Linked DNA regions of Homo sapiens: region 1 is linked to region 2. Evidence: promoter capture Hi-C in human tissues and cell types (Jung and others, 2019). All regions are on one chromosome and are shown on one strand. Each heading gives the region's core, a stretch centred on a gene start or on the middle of the fragment in contact. The rest is flanking DNA. Distances are from core to core; before and after follow the strand shown. Region 1 holds the start of SPATA32 (spermatogenesis associated 32). Region 2 overlaps LINC02210-CRHR1 (LINC02210-CRHR1 readthrough).

The links. The method cuts DNA at HindIII sites, captures the fragments that hold promoters and counts their contacts. A contact is called where the count stands out against the background at its distance.
Region 1: a contact is called between the fragment with the promoter of SPATA32 here and a fragment that was not itself captured in region 2, in 2 of the 25 tissues and cell types used here (dorsolateral prefrontal cortex and lymphoblastoid cells).

The regions. Positions count from the first base shown.
Region 1 is chr17:45,260,733-45,264,347 of GRCh38, reverse strand. SPATA32 (spermatogenesis associated 32) reads left to right here and starts at 2,254. Exons shown (of 5, transcript NM_152343.3): 1 at 2,254-2,344. The coding sequence starts at 2,332. MAP3K14 (mitogen-activated protein kinase kinase kinase 14) reads left to right here. Exons shown (of 16, transcript NM_003954.5): 16 at 1-1,229. All of the region lies in intron 2 of MAP3K14-AS1 (MAP3K14 antisense RNA 1), which reads right to left. RefSeq lists enhancers at 1,213-1,816, 2,251-2,340, 1,817-2,422 and silencers at 2,371-2,420, 2,491-2,610. The HindIII fragment of the contact is 11,872 bases long and covers 1-3,615 here.
Region 2 is chr17:45,635,864-45,639,283 of GRCh38, reverse strand. The region is part of intron 3 of LINC02210-CRHR1 (LINC02210-CRHR1 readthrough); the gene reads right to left. The region is part of intron 5 of LINC02210 (long intergenic non-protein coding RNA 2210); the gene reads right to left. It also overlaps the pseudogene ARF2P. Among named protein-coding and RNA genes, the nearest start is that of LINC02210-CRHR1, 17 kb to the right of the region's middle. The HindIII fragment of the contact is 6,431 bases long and covers 1-3,420 here.

The DNA.
Region 1 (3,615 bases), core at 1,005-3,504, 380 kb after region 2:
CAGTCGAGTTGGCCTGACCCGCTTGGATCAGTGACCATTTGCTGGCAGACAGGGGAGAGCAGCTTCCAGCCTGGGTCAGAAGGGGTGGGCGAGCCCCTCGGCCCCTCACCCTCCAGGCTGCTGTGAGAGTGTCAAGTGTGTAAGGGCCCAAACTCAGGTTCAGTGCAGAACCAGGTCAGCAGGTATGCCCGCCCGTAGGTTAAGGGGGCCCTCTAAACCCCTTGCCTGGCCTCACCTGGCCAGCTCACCCCTTTTGGGTGTAGGGGAAAAGAATGCCTGACCCTGGGAAGGCTCCCTGGTAGAATACACCACACTTTTCAGGTTGTTGCAACACAGGTCCTGAGTTGACCTCTGGTTCAGCCAAGGACCAAAGAAGGTGTGTAAGTGAAGTGGTTCTCAGTCCCCAGACATGTGCCCCTTTGCTGCTGGCTACCACTCTTCCCCAGAGCAGCAGGCCCCGAGCCCCTTCAGGCCCAGCACTGCCCCAGACTCGCTGGCACTCAGTTCCCTCATCTGTAAAGGTGAAGGGTGATGCAGGATATGCCTGACAGGAACAGTCTGTGGATGGACATGATCAGTGCTAAGGAAAGCAGCAGAGAGAGACGCTCCGGCGCCCCAGCCCCACTATCAGTGTCCAGCGTGCTGGTTCCCCAGAGCACAGCTCAGCATCACACTGACACTCACCCTGCCCTGCCCCTGGCCAGAGGGTACTGCCGACGGCACTTTGCACTCTGATGACCTCAAAGCACTTTCATGGCTGCCCTCTGGCAGGGCAGGGCAGGGCAGTGACACTGTAGGAGCATAGCAAGCCAGGAGATGGGGTGAAGGGACACAGTCTTGAGCTGTCCACATGCATGTGACTCCTCAAACCTCTTCCAGATTTCTCTAAGAATAGCACCCCCTTCCCCATTGCCCCAGCTTAGCCTCTTCTCCCAGGGGAGCTACTCAGGACTCACGTAGCATTAAATCAGCTGTGAATCGTCAGGGGGTGTCTGCTAGCCTCAACCTCCTGGGGCAGGGGACGCCGAGACTCCGTGGGAGAAGCTCATTCCCACATCTTGCCAAGACAGCCTTTGTCCAGCTGTCCACATTGAGTCAGACTGCTCCCGGGGAGAGAGCCCCGGCCCCCAGCACATAAAGAACTGCAGCCTTGGTACTGCAGAGTCTGGGTTGTAGAGAACTCTTTGTAAGCAATAAAGTTTGGGGTGATGACAAATGTTTCCAGGCCATCGGTGTCCTCTCTCTTGCCTGCCGGCCTGCTGAACCTCACGACCCTAACAGCTGCCTCTCTTTGCCTTCTTGCTGAGATCTTTTCAAGTCCCCCTTGTTTTGGACAAGGACTGTTTCAGCCCTTGAGTGGGGCTGCTTTCCCACCACTCCTCCCAGTGGCTGCTTCTAGTCCCAACGCTGGGCTAGTCATTCAGACCAGTTAGGCAAGATACCTTGCCCGGTGGCATCAGGGAAGTCCCTCGCCAAAATATGCCAGGCTGAGGGGTGGAGGAGGAGGACAACAAAGCCTGCATGCTTTGTGCCACTGCCCAAGTTAGGCAGCCCCCTACCACCAGAAGGGAAATAGGGATGGGTTCTGGGCCCTGACCATCCAGGGATGCCGGATGCACACCACAGGCCCTCCACCCTCCCCTCCTGTCCTTGAGGCCTGGACTCTTAACCCTTTCCGCTGCCTCCTGAGCCCTGCATGGGGCCAGGGATGCCTTTGTGGGCTGAGTTCCTTGGTCATGGAGCTGGGGCACACGGGGTGCTGAGTTCCTTGGTCATGGAGCTGGGGCACACGGGGTGCTGAGTTCCTTGGTCATGGAGCTGGGGCACACGGGGTGCCTTATCGAATCTGGCTCCACACTCCCTGTGTGCACAAGTGTGTGTGCGCGCGGCTTGGGTTGGTTTAGCCGGTTCTTGGAAGGGCCCTGGGACCACGAAAAGGGCGGCAGCCCTGAGCCGCTGGCGTGCAGAGCGGGTGCAAGTCCTGTCCAGCACAGCCAGGCTTACCTGCCGCCTGCCTCTCGCTCTAGGCCCGCTGCGGAAGCGCGAGCCCCACCCCCGAGGTCTTCGGAGAGGAAGGAGTTCTGGCTTCGGGCCCGCAGCCTTCGGAGGACGCCTCACTCGGGCCGTCCCCCGTCCGCCCGCCCGAAACCTAAATGCGGCTCCCTGCCTGTGGGGTCGCGGCGGGGACGTCACAGAGGCGGCGACATCACAGGCACCGGCGCCTCTAATATTTCCAGCGCCCACCAGTCCCTCAGCCAAAGAGCACACTGGAGGCGGAGAGGCAGCATCCACCAGCCCGCTCCCCGCCTCCAGGACAGAGCCTCGGTCTGCATGGGGGTGACAGGTGGGAGCGGCCGAGCGCCCGGGGGCGAGGGTTGGGGCAGGCGGGGAAAGCGAAAGTGAGAGGGGGAGGGGCGCGAAGGGGGCGGTCAGGAATCCGCCCAGGGCCCGTTCCCCTGCTCCCAAACCCCCGGCACCTGAAAGGCAGGTCGACCCGCCGCCAAAGCCCACCCGGTGCCCCTGACTACGGCTCCCAGCCTCAGCCCCTGCGCGGTGCACACCCATGTGCTCTCACGGACACGCATGCGCGCCTTGGAGTAGGGACTGCAGAGTCAGTGGTTCTTGAAGGGGTTCTGAGACCACAGAAGGAGCAATGGCCTTGTGCACAGGAAACGACTCATGAATTATCCTGAACTGCAGATCCAAAAAATCACATCCAGTTGTCCCTCCTTGATGCTTGAGGCTTTGCAGGGAGGAGCGGCAGTCTTCAGCACATTTTTACGGAGCGCTTCGTTGATGCCTTGTACTCTTCTCTGAACCAATGAGCAAAGATGTTTGCCCCCAGTGCCCTGTGTCTCCCCTTCCCATAGGGGCGTCAGATCCCCCACTGAAATGGTGGCTTTCTTTTGGGGATCCTCTCTCCCAGAAGGGCATGGGCCAGCATTAAAAACGGTCAAAAATTAGGTGGGCATGATGGCTCAACGCCTGCAATCCCAACACTTCGGGAGGCAGAGGTGGGAGGATCACATGAGGCCAGGAGTTCAAGATCAGCCTAGGCAACATAGCGAGACTTTGTCCTCTACAGGAAATGTTTAAAATTAGACAGGTGTGGCGGCATGAGCCTGTAGTCCCAGCTACTTGGGAGGCTGAGCTGGGAGGCTCACTGGAGCCCAGGAGTTGCAGTGAGCTATGATGCTGCCACTCCAGCCTGGGCCACAGAGCAAGACCCTGTCAAAAAAAAAAAAAAAAAAACCAGAGGTCGGGTGCAGTGGCTCACGCCTGTAAGGTAAAACGTAGATTAGACAGCCAGGTCTGTCATGGAGAGGATTACACTGATTATTTGAATTGGGCTTTCAGGCATGAGTAGGACTTTGCCAGAAGAAGGCTTTCCAGGTATAAGAAATAGCATTTGCAAAGGCACTGGGTGCAGAAAGGCCTGCGGTACTCTGGGGGTAGCTTCGGCTTAGGGTGAGGGACAGGAAGCTGGATGCCAAGAGATGAAAAATGAAGGTAGAGATCAGACCAAGAGGCCACATGGAGTCTGGGGGTAACCGGAGACAAGTGAGATGTAGCAGGCTCACTCTGAGGTCATTGAAAATCCAGGTTGGAGGGGGA
Region 2 (3,420 bases), core at 789-3,288:
TTTATCGTCTGAGCAATCAATAAGTGTTTAACGAGGCCTGGCACTGTATTAGGTAAGCTGTAGCATAAATACAAAAGTGTAAGACACAGTCCCTGCCCATTTGAGGCGTACAATCTAAATATTTCTCAGAGGCCGGGTGCGGTGGCTCACACCTGTAATCCCAACACTTTGGGAGGCCGAGGCAGGCGGATCATGAGGTCAGGAGTTCAAGACCAACCTGGCCAACGTGGTGAAACCCTGTCTCTACTAAAGATACAAAAATTCGCCGGGCGTGGTGGAGGGCGCCTGTAATCCCAGCTACTCAGGAGCTTGAGGCAGGAGAATCGCTTGAACCCAGGAGGCAGAGATCACACCATTGCACTCCAGCCTGGGCAACAAGAGCAAGACTCTGTTTCAAAAAAATAACATAACATAACATAACATAACATAACATAACATAACATAACATAACATAAATAACATAAATAACATAAATAAAATAAAATAAAATAAAATAAAACAAATATTTCTCAGAAATTACTCCATGGTTAAAAAGCAAATCTGGACTTAGTTGCCAGTATTGCAATGAACATTCTTTAAATTCAATATTTTGAAGAAAAACATGATACCACACATTTATCATGGAATGAAATTTTTTCCTAGTAATATAAACTTCATTGTTATGAATAAATAAGGTTTGCTTCAGTTAAAATTCACCTGACATGGCCCTCCTGTATAATTTTTTATTTAATTTTATTTTTAAAATTTTATTTAAAATTTATTATATTAAATTTGGGACAGGTTCTTGCCATGTTGCCCAGGCTGATCTCAAACTCTGGGCTCAAGCGACTCTCCCACCTTGGCCTCCCAAAGTGCTGGGATTACAGGCATGAGCCACTGTGCCTGGCCAATCTTCTATAATTCGAATAAATATTTCTTGAAAAAGTAGTTTTAGAAGGTTAAATAGGCCAGGCGTGGTGGCTCACGCCTATAATCCCAGCACTTTGGGAGGCCGAGGCAGGTGAATCACTTGAGGTCAGGAATTAAAGACCAGCCTGGCCAACATGATGAAACCCTGTCTCTACTAAAAATACAAAATTTAGCTGGGCGTGGTGGCGGGCGCCTATAGTCCCAGCTACTCAGGAGGCTGAGGCAGGAGAATCGCTTGAACCCGGGAGGCAGAGGTTGCTGTGAGCCAAGATCACGCCACTGTACTCTAGCCAGGGTGATAGAGCAAGACTCCATCTCAAAAAGAAAAAAAAAAAGAAGAAAAAGTTTAAATAGAAGTGCTTAGGTACTAATATGGCCAACAATTGTCTGGACAAACGAGCTCTAGGCTACTTAGTGAACCTCCTCTCCGGGATATTTTTATTAATATTTGGAGAACAACATAAAACACATTTCCAAGTGGTTCATGAGATGCCATGGCCATCCAAAAGAGGGAGGCAATGCGCCGGAGCTTGGTCTTGACAAGAGATATTTTCCATAGCAAAATTTACCACTAACTCGAGGGCAATACCAGGTGGGCTGGGAATCTCACATCTCCCAAATTAGCCTCTTGATTCTGTCACAAACTTTCAGAACTCAAAGGCTTGTGGTTCTGGGAATGGAAACTAACCAAACATCATCTGGACTGAGACAGCCAAACCTGGAGACAGCGCCATCCCAAAAGTGAACCGTCTGCTTCATGGGAAGAACATTTATCTCAGAGCAGGGAGGGATGTAGCAGCTGCAGTCGCAGGGGACCGAGACCCAAGACGGTGATGCCCAGAGCACAAACACGACCCTCCACTGGCCTGTGGGGCTCTGGGAAAGAGCTTCGGCCTCACACTGGGTCACCTCCCCACAGGGTCCCCATCTGGCAAATAAGGGAAGGAACTAGCATAAGGAAAAGGCTGGATACCTTCCTAGTGTTATGAAGTATTGATATGCCAGTGAAAAAGCTCACGGATGTCTTTAAATAAAGCGTCTTACATCAGGAACTCTGGGCTACAATATAGTTTCAGGGAAAAGTTCCAATCTGAGCCTCTTTGCACCTGCAATAAGCAAATACCTTTTCTTTCCTGAGGATCATTTGCTTAAAGCACTGAAGAGTGAGCTGCTAGCTGCAGCAGTGGTGGTAAAGAATGACGATTTCTCGGTAGCGCAGTGGCTCATGCCTGTAATCCCAGCATTTTGGAAGGCTGAGGTGGGTGGATCCCTTGAGCTCAGGAGTTACAGACCAGCCTGGGCAACATGGCAAGACCCTGTCTCCACAAAAAATACAAAAATTAGCCAGGTGTGGTGGTGCACACCCATAGTCTCAGCTACTCAGGGGGCTGAGGTGGGAGGATTGCTTGAGCCCGAGAGACGGAGGTTGCAGTGAGCTGAGATCGCACCACTGCACTCCAGCTTGGGCGACAGAGTGGGAGGCTGTTTCAAAAAAAATTTTTTTAATAAAAAATAAATAAACATGAAAAGGTACAGTAAAAATATGGTTTTAAAAAAAAAAGAATGACAATTCCTTCCTTTTTACGAAAGGATGCCAAAGACTAACAGGACTCCAGACGCCAGACCAGGATTGCAACAGCTGAACTCAGTCCCCGCTCCAACTCGCCTCCATGAAGCCCGCTCTGGCCTTCGAGCACCAGCAAGCCCTCTGGACTTCTCCATCAATTGCAAAAATGATCATCAAAGCTACTGAAATGGAAGGTGGTGTTTAAAACTTAACACTGGGTTTCTTAAAATGTAACACTGCTTTTCTTATGGCATGGATAAGGCACTGTGAGAAAGCTGCCTCCACTCCCAGCACACACGTACACGTGCACACAGCAGAGGCTAGCTGATGTGGCCACAAGGCACAAAGAATAGATCCTTCTGATCAGTTCTGGTTCTGGAACTGGTTGGCGAGCCAGTTCAGGCCTTCGTAAAGCCCATGTCCAGTAGTGGCACAAGTAGCCTGAATGTGCCAGTTTCTGTAGCGGAGGGAATGGAGGCCGAGCTTGTCCGTTATCTCTGCCGCGTTCATAGTATTAGGGAGATCCTTGAAAAAGAACATTCAAAAGTCAATGTATACTGTTGTATCCATATAGCGAAATATGCTCTTCCCTGTTAAACGTGCCCAAACCCACAGTCTTCTCTGTTGATGGCAACTCCAACCTTCCAGTTGCTCAGGCCAAAAAGCTTGAAATTATCCTTACTTTTTTACTCTCAATGTCACAGCCAATCTGTCAGGAACTCCTAACGGTTCCACTATCAAAATTTATCCAGAATCTGACCACTTACTAACTCCACAGCTGTCGCCGTGATCTGACACCACATCGCTTCTCACCTGGATGACTGAAATAACTTCCTAACTGTCCTCCCTACTTCTCTGCTCTTGCTCCCGTGAAGCCTATTCTCAACCCAGCCATCGGTGAATCAGATTGAATCATTCTTCTATCAAAACTGCAACAGCTCCCC